Linked DNA regions of Homo sapiens: region 1 is linked to region 2. The links are contacts of gene promoters, found by promoter capture Hi-C in human tissues and cell types (Jung and others, 2019). All regions are on one chromosome and are shown on one strand. The core of a region is centred on a gene start or on the middle of the fragment in contact, and the rest is flanking DNA. Distances in the headings are between cores, read along the strand shown.

Evidence for each region. Contacts are between HindIII fragments. The study calls those that stand out against the background at their distance.
Region 1: a contact is called between a fragment that was not itself captured here and the fragment with the promoter of FSD1L in region 2, in 1 of the 25 tissues and cell types used here (spleen).

What each region holds. Positions count from the first base shown.
Region 1 is chr9:104,957,612-104,960,322 of GRCh38, reverse strand. No RefSeq gene overlaps it. Among named protein-coding and RNA genes, the nearest start is that of ABCA1, 31 kb to the right of the region's middle. The HindIII fragment of the contact is 8,350 bases long and covers 1-2,711 here.
Region 2 is chr9:105,446,761-105,449,460 of GRCh38, reverse strand. It overlaps FSD1L (fibronectin type III and SPRY domain containing 1 like), which reads right to left and starts at 1,427. Exons shown (of 14, transcript NM_001145313.3): 1 at 1,226-1,427. The coding sequence starts at 1,240. RefSeq lists a silencer at 937-1,546. The HindIII fragment of the contact is 8,259 bases long and covers 1-2,700 here.

The DNA of each region.
Region 1 (2,711 bases), core at 178-2,677, 490 kb after region 2:
AAGCTAGTGAAACAGAACGGAGACTTGAGGAGACCAAGTCTAAAGACAGAGAACACTGATGAAATGGAAGACGAATTGGGAATGAGATATGTAAAAATACCCTGGGACTAATTATATAGAAATGCTGAGGATATATCATTCATGAACCTGTAAAAGCATACAAGAAATATTTTTCTAACAAAGAACACCTCAGTGCATGATAGTTAACAATGCATGACTGTCTGATAGAAGGATTTCTCTTGATTCACTGTTGGAGATGCCTGCTCTAGCATAAAAGCTGTTTACAGGAAACAGGCAGAGCTGAGAGTTGCAGAGAATATGGGCAGGAGGACAATTCAGTATAAATGTCTCTGTGTTGCTAAATCCAATCACAGAACCGTATGTTGCTCTCTCAAGTGCTTGATTGTTGAACTCATTCAGTGCATCTAAGAATGTAATTGTTAATTTTGCGTACAATAAAATGTGTAAATAATTAAATGCATTAAGACTTTGGTAAATCTATAAAATATGATAGCTTGTGGAGGTGGAAAGCACCAGGGAAGGACAGGGAAGGGTGAGCATTCAGATGGGGAGGTCCCATGCTGGTAGTTACCTTCTGTATCCCAGAATGTGACAAAGAGGTCCCGAAGACTGAAACACCAAGGACAGTTGATGTTTTCGTCTTGAATGTTCTACTTCCTATGGTAGGCGCATATCCTAAAGTAAAATTAGAAAGATTTCTAGTAATAAGAATAAAAGCAAAAGTACGTTTGTCTTTAGTGCTAGAAAGGGGGATGTAGCTAGCAGGAGTCACCTTAGGTCACTTAAATCGCGATTCAGTAGTCTTCCTTCTTCATCACACAACTTAATATTTTACTGCAGTTGTTTATTTTTAATTTTATTACAGAAAAATTCACTCTTTTTACTGTGTATTTCCACGTGCTTTGAAACATACATACACTCATGGAATCACCACCAAAATTAAAATGCGGAATTGCTCCACACCCGAAAAAGCACCCTTGTGCTGTCTCTTTGTAGTCAACGCTTCCTCTCACCTTTAAACCCTGGAAACCACTGATCTATCCTCTGACTCTTTAGCTTTGCCTTTTCCAGAATAACATGAAAATGGAATCATGTAGTAACACAGCATCTTTTACATTAGGGAATTTAAAACAAAAGCAAGTAAACAAGCAAAAACAAATACTAGAGCCCCATTCCCTGAATATTCTGGTTAAGTAAAATTTACTATGTCAGACACCTCACATCGTAATACTTCTCAAAATATTTTTCCCAATCAAAGCAACTTTTGTTTTTCTTTCTCTTGGTCCTTGCCCTCAATTGCTTAAGAATTTGAGAAGAAGAGAGGGTAACTTTGCATTTGTTTCCTGTGTGATCATGACAGTAATTTGGCTGTACAGAGGAGATTGCTTTGTAATATTTTGTCTGGGGGTGAGGCAATGTTGGTGTTTTTCTAGCAATTTTGTAAATATAATCTGAACTAGAGAGGAAAACTCACTCCATGGTGTCCAATTAGAATTTTTCTGAAAGAGAGAAGATAAAAAGGGAGTGGGATGAAGCATAGTTAGGCACATAAAAATTAGAAAAAACTCTAAGGACACTCCTTTGTGATTGTCAGCTTCCTACATAAAGGAATATAAAATTCTTGAAACATGAAATTGCAAGGCATGCAAGGGAAAACCAATGCATGTGGGTTTGTTTGGATGCACACACAAATTCAACTGCCTGCTTCATTGAGGCAGGCAGACCAGCTCAAGGTGCAGCAGGAGTTAGTTGTTTTAATTTCCAACACTCTTTCTGCTCTTATCTTCATGATCTAGAGCACATTAAATAAAAATATGAAGGCCAGGTGTGGTGGCTCACGCCTGTAATCCTAGCACTTTGGGAAGCCAAGGCGGGCGGATCACCTGAAGTCAGGAGTTTGAGACCAGCCTGGTCAACATGGTGAAACCCCATCTCTACTAAAAATACAAAAATTGGCCAGCCATGGTGGTACGTACATGCCTGTAGTCCCAGCTACTCAGGAAGCTGAGGCAGGAGAATTGCTTGAACCCAGGAGGCAGAGGTTACAGTAAGCTGAGGTTGCGCCACTATGCTCCAGCCCACGCAACAAGAGCAAAACTCCATCTCAAAAAAGAAACAAAATGAACGTTACAAGAGCAAAATTTTACCTTCACTTTCCCTTCACAATTATTGCTTTTAATTAAAAAAAAAGGGGGGTGGTGGTGGTTGGGAATGTGGGCTTATTTGGTTTCATTCCATAAACTATGGAACTGACATTACATATTGGGGGTCAGGGTGGGGTATAATAATATAATATAGGCTGCTGCTGGCCTTTCTCATCTTACTAGGTCGTATTTATTGTGCATCCACACTGGAATAGGACAGCTGCTGTTTGGCTGCTGCTATCTTGGTGTAATTTCTTTCTAGTATGTCACCTTGCTTTTCCTACCAATTATTAAATCATTTGCATCAACCTCTTGTATATGTCTGAGGTTTGGGCTCTGCCTTTGTGCTTATCACCAGTATTAAACACGGGAGCACCAAAGGACACCGAGGGAAACACCACATAAACACAGTGATGGATATAGTGGCATAGCAACCCAGGGGGTGCAACATATGGGTTAGAGCCTCATGTTTTCTCAACTTTCAAGTTGTGATAGAATCAGGGCCCTCACAAGCTATAAACATAGATTTTTATCTGCAAATGCATT
Region 2 (2,700 bases), core at 178-2,677:
ATCATTTCTTTTATCTAATAAGCTGAGAGATGTTTTACAAATTTAGGCAGAGACAATATTTTAAACCTATACATACTCAAAATACACAAAATCTAATTTTTAAAAAATGCCTTAAGAATAGTCATGCATTCCAAGGTGAGTTTCAAGACCAACACATACAATGAAATCATATGCATATTTGTTAAATACTGTAATAGTCAATGCTCAACACATCATTATTCTCTCATGCCCTCAGTGAAGTGATCCTCAAGAAGGTGAATGTAGACAAAATTGTAGAAAACGTTGTTCTAAGTCTTTCCCGTGCTTTCTAATAATAGAAAAGAATAGTCTCTTAGATATGTCTTTGTTTTCCCTGCTACATTATTAATACTCCTTGTTTTTTCTTTCCTACCCTGTACTATATTTCAATTACGTTATAGTCTAACAAAGAGAACAGGGTGGTTATTTTCATATGGAGATTATGACTGAATAATTCACTTCTAACTGTATTCAAGACATTGGCTTTGTTCTCCAAATACTTCTGAATTGAACCTTTACGATTATATAACCTTTCCTCAACTGTTCGGAAAGTATAAAACATTCCACAACGACCCCTAAGTAACTGTGCCCAGCAACACCAACTGGTCAGAGAGTGGGAAGGCTGCCCTAACAATTGAAGTCTTTTCCCTCCATTCAACGAACACTAAACACTAAGATCTACTTAGGAAAAGTCATGGGAAGGGGAGCGGTGGGCGGTACAAAGGAGATTCGGTCCCTGACCTAAAGAGCGTGGTGCTGAGACGAGACTTGGTCGAGGAGAAAGCCCCAGCTTTCGGCGTCAGCAGGGAGACACCAAAAAGGCTGTGCCTCGGTTTCCTCACCTGCTGAGGAGGGATACACCCCCACCAGCACGCTCGCAGTCTGCAGGCATGAAAACCGGCCTAAAGCGCTGCAGAGTGGCTGATTTTAAAAGGGGGATGGCTCCGTTTCTCCTCCAGAGTCAGGGCCCCGGACAGCGCGCAGAGCAGAGGCCAGCCCGAGTCACCGGGCGCGGTCCCCGCATCCGTGTGGGCGCCTCTTAGCTCCCGCCCAGAGAGCGGCCGGGCGGCCTTGCCCTCCGCAGCAGCAGCCCGGACGCCCGGCCAGGCCCACCCCGCGCACCCACAGCCCACGGGCCCAGGCGCCCCGCCCACCCTGTGCCGGCCCGGCTTGTCTCGGTAGCCCCGGGCTCCCCTCCCCCGCTTACTTTCTGGGAGTCCATGGCGAGTGGCTAAGCCCACTGGGCTCGAACCCGAGACGACGAACCGTGTGAGGAGGCTCAGCGAGATCGCACACCCCAAGACCGCTACTCACTGCACTGCCCCAGCCCGCACCGGCACCGCCCGGCCCCACCCGTCCGCGCCCAGACCGCGCGCGCCGTAGTCACGCCGCGGTTGCCAGGGTGAAAGGGCGGCCCGCAGAAGGGAGGGGCTGAGGAGCGCACCGCGCCTGCGCGCAGCGGCTGACTGCTCCCGGGAAGTAGCCGTGGAGGGTGGGGAGCGCCGCCCGTCTGTCTACCGCTAGTGCCTCTGCAGGCTGCACTCCCTTCCCCCATCCTTTTTCCTCCAGCGATAGCGGTCTCTCCGGCCCTGAAATAGGCCACTGGGCATCCAGCAGCCGGCCGGTGCGGAGGGCCCGGGAAGGAAAGAGTATCTGGTGCTGGAGACGGATTAGCCCACCCTCCACCCAGCACGCATCTGAAGCCCCTCCCCACACTATCCTTCGAGGGGCAGCCAGGCTTGAGCGGACCCAGCGGTCCAAAGGGAGGAAAAGGGCTGGGGTGGGGATGTAGCGAAAACGTGGGAAAAGACCTTTAGGGGATGTGGTGGAAACGTGGGAGGAGGGATATAGGGATGAGAGTGGCGGAAACGTGGGTGTGGGATTAATATGAGCTTTGGGGCCTGGCACAGTTTTTCCCGGGGACCCACCCATCCTCCCCGGCACCTCGCTACCTGTATGATTTTGAGCAAGTCAGTCTGCCTGAGCTTGTTTCATCTGTAAAATGAGAGAAATAATGCGGACTTTGCAGAGGATTGTGAGGATTAAATAACGTATGGTACATAATTAGTAGTGAATAAATTATAGTCATTCTCTTTTTTTTTTTTTTTTTTTTTTTTTGGAGATGGAGTCTCGGTCTGTCACCGAGGCTGGAGTGCAGTGGTGCCATCTTGGCTCACTGCAACCTCTGCCTCCCGGGTTCCAGGAATTCTCGTGCCTCAGCCTCATGAGTAGCTGGGATTACAGGCGCCCCCACCACACCTGGCTAATTTTTTGTACTTTTAGCGGAGACTGGTTCTAGCCATGTTGCTTAGGATGGTCTCGAACTCCTAAGCTCAGGCAGTCCGCCCACCTCAGCCTCCCAAATTGCTAGGATTACAGGTGTGGGTTACAGGGCATGTGCCAGGCCCATTATAGTCATTCTTAGTGGGGAGTTAGAACCTGCTCGGTGTGGCCTGAGGCATCAATGAAGATTTTAGAAAGCTTGGAATTTAGTAGGCTTGAGAAAGTTCTTCCTCAAGCAGACAGGCCTCATCTTCCATTTGGATGACTCTGGAGAGGCTCACAAAAGTTCAATTAGACAGTCATTTATGATGAATGAATAAAAGGGAAATACATATTGAGTACCTATTCTGTACCAGTTCTACAAACAAAATTCAGTAGTGGGCAAGGCCCTGTTTCTCT